2 separate regions of the Homo sapiens genome follow, and region 1 is linked to region 2. Evidence: promoter capture Hi-C in human tissues and cell types (Jung and others, 2019). All regions are on one chromosome and are shown on one strand. Each heading gives the region's core, a stretch centred on a gene start or on the middle of the fragment in contact. The rest is flanking DNA. Distances are from core to core; before and after follow the strand shown. Region 1 holds the start of LYPD3 (LY6/PLAUR domain containing 3). Region 2 holds the start of PRR19 (proline rich 19).

What was found. Contacts are between HindIII fragments. The study calls those that stand out against the background at their distance.
Region 1: a contact is called between the fragment with the promoter of LYPD3 here and the fragment with the promoter of PRR19 in region 2, in 1 of the 25 tissues and cell types used here (thymus).

The regions. Positions count from the first base shown.
Region 1 is chr19:43,464,069-43,467,593 of GRCh38, forward strand. It overlaps LYPD3 (LY6/PLAUR domain containing 3), which reads right to left and starts at 1,540. Exons shown (of 5, transcript NM_014400.3): 1 at 1,425-1,540; 2 at 257-388. The coding sequence starts at 1,503. RefSeq lists an enhancer at 1-292. The HindIII fragment of the contact is 17,258 bases long and covers 1-3,525 here.
Region 2 is chr19:42,300,882-42,304,548 of GRCh38, forward strand. PRR19 (proline rich 19) reads left to right here and starts at 1,251. Exons shown (of 3, transcript NM_199285.3): 1 at 1,251-1,622. PAFAH1B3 (platelet activating factor acetylhydrolase 1b catalytic subunit 3) reads right to left here and starts at 1,743. Exons shown (of 5, transcript NM_002573.4): 1 at 1,351-1,743; 2 at 1,069-1,158. The coding sequence starts at 1,428. RefSeq lists enhancers at 1,218-1,267, 1,348-1,477, 1,430-2,084 and a silencer at 1,638-1,857. The HindIII fragment of the contact is 37,239 bases long and covers 1-3,667 here.

The sequences.
Region 1 (3,525 bases), core at 290-2,789, 1.2 Mb after region 2:
AGGACGTGACCTCGTTCCAAACCCGAGCTCTCCCCGTCCGCCCCACCCAGTTCTCAACTCTCTGCTCCTCGCGCTTGTAATTGTTAATAGAGAAGGCCTGGCCTGCAAGGCTGTGTCGTAGGGTCCCGGCCAGGCTGAAAGGGAGGGGTGGGGCCGCGTTAAAGGGGCGTGGCCAGATCCAGAAAGGACTATAAGGAGGCGGGGCTGGGCCGGAGGAGCCTGCAGTGGTGTGCGTGGCCCGGGGGTCCCCACTCACTGGTCTCCACCGCCCCCACGGCCTCGGTGCAGACGTCCACGCCCGGCGCGCACTTCACTGTCTTCATCTTGTTCGGGGAGCATCCGTCATCTGCTTTCTGCACGCAGCTGTAGCACTCCAGGGCCTGCGCTCCTGGGGGAGCGGAGCCGAATAGACCTGAGCCCTCCTTGCTAAAGCGTCCACCCCCAAGGAGAAATAGTCCTTCCCATGCCCTCTGTCCCGGGATTAGACAGTCTTATTGCACACACTTTTCCAGGGCAGGAGTAGGGAAAAGCTTTCCACAAATCTGGAAGCACGGGAATCACTGGACCCTTTTCCTTCACACCCACTATGCCAACTGTGGGCACATCCTTCCGACAGCCCTGTATGCCCACTGTAGGCGATCCCCGCCATGAAGCCCCTCATCCCGGGGTAGGAAGGATACCTCCTCACGGTTTTCTGCTCAGAATGAGAGAACTTTTCCCACAGTGTGTGGGAGAACTTTTCCCACAGTAGACTGTGCTCAGTGAGGGATCCCTTCCCACAGCCCCCTTCTGCTCAAATGAGAGAACACTACCCACAGCTTCTCTGCCCAGGACAGGGAACACTTTTTTCTTTTTTTCTTTTTTTCTTTTTTTTTTTTTTGAGACGGAGTCTCGCTCTGTCGCCAGGCTGGAGTGCAGTGGCGCAATCTCGGCTCACTGCAACCTCCCCTCCTGGATTCAAACGATTCTCCTGCCTCAGCCTCCCGAGTAGCTGGGACTACAGGCTCGCGCTACCGCGCCCAGCTAATTTTTGTATTTTTAGTAGAGACAGGGTTTCACCATGTTGGCCAGGCTGGTCTCGATCGTTTGACCTCATGATCCGCCTGCCTCGGCCTCCCAAAGTGCTGAGATTACAGGCATGAACCACCGCGCCCGGCCTAGGAACAGGGGACTTCTTTCTGCAGCTTCAGGATAGGAAAATTTTGCCCACAGCTCCCCTTGTCCGTGGTGGGGAACCCTTCCTACGGCCCATGGTGGAGGACCCTTCCCTCTGCCTCCCTTGCTTAGGATGGGGGAACTTTGCCCACAGTGCCCTCTGCTTATGTGGGGATCCTTCCCACAGCCTTCTCTGTACGGGGCCAGAGGAGCCTCCTCCCTAAGAGCCCCCACTCTACCCCCTCCACCTCTCCGGGCAGCAGACCCACCTCCGCGAAGCAGCAGCAGCAGCAGCCAGCCTGCAGTCCAGATCATGGCCTGGGCACCTGCTTTCCTGGCGGGGTCCATGGCTCCGTCCTGCTCCCTTGGCGTCCCCCCTGGATGTGCCGCCTCCGAGCTCGGGCCCTCTTACCTGAGCCCAGGATGAGTAACCTCGCCCCAGGCAACCCCAGCCTTGCCCAACCGGGCCAACTCAGCGTCGGCTGTGGGGCGGGGCCCCGCCCCTAGGCGCGTCATCCAAGGGAGAGCGGTCCCTGCCCTGTGAAGTTGCCAAGGAGGGAAAGGGTGGGAGCTGAGGTTCCCTGACAGCTCGCGGGAGAAAGTCTGTGTGTGTTTGGAGTGGGAGAGTAGTGGGGCTTAAAGACAGGCTGGGGCTACTCGACATTCAGTGTTCGGTAACTGTTAAATGAGCATCTACAGTGTGCCCGGCTTTGGTCTAGGTAATGCTGGAGATGAAGACAGAACCAGTGCCTGTCCTGGCAGAGCTCACAGTCTGATGGGGGAGACAGATGCTAATCAAATAATCGTACAAATTGGTGTTTACCAAAGAGACTAAGACACTGAAGGAAAAAGTGTAGTGATACAAGGAGATGTGCAGTCTAGAAGTGGGGGCTGGTCGGTGAGGGCTTCCTTGAGGTTATCTGAGATGCAACCTCAAGGGCATGCAGGATGTAGCCAGCTAGAGCAGGTCAAGAGAGGGACACAGCCCTTTACAAGCAGAGGGAACAGCACGTGGGAGCACCTGGAGGTAGGAGGTAGGATGGACCATTCAAACATGGAAAGGAGAGCAGTGCTCCTGAGCTCAGAAGTCCATGAGAGAAGGGCAGGAACTGAGATGAAAGAGTCAGGCAGAGGCCGAGACACTCAGGGCATCAGAGGCCCCGACAAGAGATTTGGATTAATTTTGAGAATAGTAGAGAACCTTTAAGAGGGTCTAAATGAGCTGGAGGACATAATAGATTTGCTTCCTAATATGATCAACCTGAGAAATAGTGCAGCTAGCCATCAAGAAGTAAATGGAGGCCGGGCGCGGTGGCTCATGCCTGTAATCCCAGCAATTTGGGAGGCCGAGCTGGGTGGATCACTTGAGATCAGGAGTTTGAGACCAGCCTGGGCAACATGGCGAAACCTCATCTCTATTAAAAAAAAATAATAAATTTAAAAAAATTAGCCAGGTGCAGTGGCGTGCACCTGCTGTCCCAGCTACTCGGAAGGGTAGGGCAGGAGAATCACTTGAGCCCAGGAGGTGGAGGTTGCAGTGAGCTGAGATCACGCCACTGCACTCCAGCCTGGGCAACAGAGTGAGACCCTGTCTCAAAAAAAAAAATTTAAAAATTTAAAAATTAAAAAAAAGTAAATGGATCTGAGAGTAGGATATATGATTTTAAAAAAGGAAAAAGAAAAAGAAGTGAATGGCAAAAGAGAGTGGTTGGTTCGGCCAATGGAATACTACACAGCAATAGAAAAGATCCAACACCTGATATATGCAGCAACATATCTCAAAAACTTTGTGTTGGGGCCAGGCACAGTGGCTCACACCTGTAATCCCAGCACTTTGAGACACCAAGGTGGGAGGATCACTTGAACCCAGGGGTTTTGAGACCAGGCTGTGCAACATAGTGAGATCCCATCTCATTTTATTTTAAAAAAAGAAAAAACTTGGTGTTGAGTTTAGAAAGCCTTAAACAAACAAACAAAACATACTGTGTAACTGAATATATATGAAGTTTCAGAACAGACAAAACTAACCAGTGGTGATAGAAATCAGAACACATGTTACCTTTGGGAGGGCATGGCCCCAGAAGGAGCAACAGGGAGGAGCCCCCACGATCTTCATCTAGGTGACAGCTGCATGTGTGTACAGATACGTTGAGAATCACTGACTCAGGCCTGTCACTGGACGTATGTTATTCTTCAATAAAAACAAGGTAAAGAATGTCACTGTGGACTCTGTGTAAAAAAGGAAAATGACTCTAGAAGGGGTGAGAGAGAAGGCCAGGAAACCAACAGGGGGCCGTGTAGTTTTCCATGGAAGAAAGAGAAAAACAGCCCCTAACAGCTGGGAGTTGGCCTGACACACATAGTGAGGCC
Region 2 (3,667 bases), core at 1-2,500:
TCGGCTCATTGCAATCTCTGCTTCCCAGGTTCTGGCGATTCTCCTGCCTCAGCCTGCCAAGTAGCTGGGACTATAGGCATGTGCCACCATGCCCAGCTAATTTTTGTATTTTTAGTAGAGACAGGATTTCGCCATGTTGGCCAGGGTGGTCTCGAACTCCTGGCCTCAGGTCATCCGCCTGCCTTGGCCTCCCAAAGTGCTGGGATTACAGGCGTAAGCCACCACACCCTGCCTAGAGTCTCTCACTTTAAACCAAGCCCCAGGCTCTGTTGCTCATGCTGAGGTGGGCGGACTGCTTGAGCCCAGGAGTTCAAGACCAACCTGCGCAACAGGGCAAAACCCCATCTCTACAAAAATTACAAAAATTAGCCAGGTGCATGGTGATGTGCACCTGTAGTCCCAGCTACTCGGAGACTAAGGTGGGAGGATCACTTGAGCCCAGGAGGCAGAGGTTGCAGTGAACAGAGATCATACCACTGCACGCCAGCCTGGGTGACAGAGCAAGACCCTGTCTCAAAAACCAACCAACCAACCAACCAACCAACAAAACAAACCAAGCCCCATAGAAGCAAGACTCACTTCATGAAAATCCAGTCTGCTTGAGCCATGCATTGAATCAATGGCATTACAGTTGAAACTTATTTTGATGAAACCCATTACAGTTGGACATGCTTTGTGGAAAGATATTATTATGATTGAGTCCTCTTTGTGGAGTGCCATTAGAGTTGCCCTTCGCTTCCTGTAAAGTGACTATAGCTTTGTGTAAACCCAACAGGGCTGCGCACTACTTAAAGCAAACAAGAAAGAGCCTCACTTTAGGCAAGCCTATGGCAGGAAAGCCTCATTTTAGGTCTTAGTACATTATACACAAATCCAATCTGATAAAACCAAGGCATACATTTCTTTCTCAATAGAATGTTGCACCTTACACCAAGATTCTCAGAGCCTCGGGCTGCCTGAGGCCAATCTGGGTACTCTCATAATACCTCACCTGGCCTGGGTTCTGGTCCAGATGTGTCAGCATGGACACAGGGCTGGATGGGGCAGGGGGAGAGGGACTGCCCTCACCTCGCACTGGTGCATGAGCTGGACCAAGGAGTCCCCGATGAAGACGACTTCGGGTTCCTTATCTTTGCTGTCAGCCACGAACCGATGGTGCTGCGGGAGCGCGCGAGAGGGAGTCAATGGCATGCACGCTCCAGGGCCCGCCCCGCCCTGCTCCCTTAGGCAGCGCCTCCTCAACTGCCCTCAGTTTCCCAATCAGGTAGTGAGAGTGGCACGAACCAGCCGTTCTCCTGAGCCACCCCCCGCGCCCCCGGACTCCTCAATATCCCAGGTGGGAACGCTCACCAGGGACATCCAGCGCCCGTCGCCCTGTACGTCCTGCACCGGCGTGGGCTTGCTGGCTGGGTTCTCCTCTCCACTCATCTTGGCGCCGCAGCTCCTGCAGGATGAGCGAGTCGGGTCGGCCCGGGAGTGTTCCGAACGGAGCTGGCTCCGCCACGCCCACTCCTACCCCTCGCGGCAACAAAGGACCGTCCCAACGCTAGCACACCCGCGGAGGACGAAGGCCGATACAGGGCGCCGCCTCCTCTCCAGGGACGGAAGCCTTCACTTAGGAGGTAGGTGGAATCAGGAACCTTCGCTTCCCCCACGACGGCCGCACAGTGGGCTCGCCCGGCGCTTCCCGCTCGGGCCGCTGACTCCCAGGCCGCGCACCCGGCACGGGGTGGGGGGAGGGAGAGGCGAGACCATCCAGCTCCCGAGGCGGGGAGGAGGGAGAAACCACCCACCGGTCACGGGGAGGGGCGAACTACCTGAAGAGTCGAGAGTGGGCGGGGAAAATCTAGCCCTCTGTCTAGCAAATGGGAAGAAACCATTTGCTGTACAGAGTGAAATGTGCGGAAGGGACCACCTACTGTTGCGGGGGGGGGGGTGACCCATTCACGTGGTGGGGGGAGGGGAGCGAGTGGACGAGTCCATTCTTATATTCCCTTGAAGGGGTGGCTCGAATGCACCTGGCTGGGGGGGACGCTCCTATTTTCTACTGATGTGGGGGACAGAAAAGGAAGATGACAAAATGTGAAAATTCGAGGCTCCCTTCTAAGGAGCCACTCTAAGGCCGCGCCAGGGCTTTAGTGAGCCTATCTACTCGTGGGCTTCCCCTACTCAAAACACCGTGGGTGTGTGTGTGTGTGTGTGTGTGTGTGTGTGTGTGTGTGTGTTGAAATCTAAAGTACATATCTTTGCATTCAAGACATCACAGGACCCCTACTCAAAACACCGTGTGTGTGTGCGCGCGCGTGGCATAACATATAAACTACATATCTTTGCATTCAAGACACCATAGGACCTGCTTGGAGGGTAGAAGAAGGTGCAGAAAGAGAAAGGAAATTAGAGACGCCTCCAGGGCTCAGGTCCAGTCTGGCGTCCCTCCGGCAGATCATCTTGCAGATCTGCAGCCTCTACACTCTCTCTAAACCCACAGGCCAACTGGGTATGTCTGAGCTCTGAAACCTACATCCATAGCCAAGGCCACCTAGGGTCGCGCCTCTCCCCCAACGCTGCCCCAAATTAATCTCAGACCTCAGTGTCTTCTCAGATCTCCCTCTTCTCTGGGACCAGGTGGGGGGCTCACTCCCTGCTAAACGTCCTGGTCATGTTCTTGTAGCCTCACTCCAGGTGGGACCTTCCCATGTATTCATTCCTTCGAGGTGGATTGATACTGAGACAGAGATGAGTGTTATTCATTGTGTTTATGTTTTCAATCCACTTTCCTGGAACTGGGCCGGGCACACAGTGGTTATTCCACAAGTGCTTGCTGAATGAGTAGTAAATGAGTGGGTCAGCTCCTGACCTTGTCCCAATGTGTTTAGGGAGACAGATCCAGACACAGAGGTGTAGGGGTGTCAAAGTTGTGTTTGAGGGAGAGACAGGGACCTCTGGGGAGGAAGAGGAGAAGGACTCTGAGGACTATGGGTTTCCTAGGAGTAGTATCTCAGCTGGGTCTGAAAGATAATGAAGAATGGGCAAGCAGAAAGAAAAGACACAGGTAATCACTTTCTTATTAGGTTTGGGGAATATCGTGGAATAGCTTGATTTTAAAGTCTGAGGGAGGCCAGCATGGAGGCTCATGCCTGTAATCCCAGCACTTTGGGAGGCTGACATGGTCGGATCACTTGAGGTCAACCAGCCTGGCCAACATGGCGAAACCACGTGTCTACTAAATATACAAAAAAAAAAAAAAAATTAGCTAGGCATGGCAGCACACGCCCGTAGTCCCAGCTACTTGGGAAGGCTGAGGCAGGACAATTGCTTGAGTCTGGGAGGCAGAGGTTGCAGTGAGCTGAGATCGCGCCACTGCAGCCCAGCCTGGGCAACAGTGGCCCAGCTTGGGTGACACAGCGAGACTCTGTCTTAATTACAAAAATAAACAAACAAATAAAGTCTGAGGGAGCCAGGTGCAGTGATGCATGCCTGTAGTCCCAGCTACTGGGGAGGCTGAGGTGCGAGGATCGCTTGAACCCAGAAGTTTGAGACCAGCCTGGGTAACACAGTGAGACCCTGTCTAAAAAAAAAAAAAAAAAAAGGCTGGGCGCGGTGGCTCACGCCTGTAATCCCAGCACTTTGGGAGGCCGAGGTGGGCAGATCACGAGGTCAGGATCGA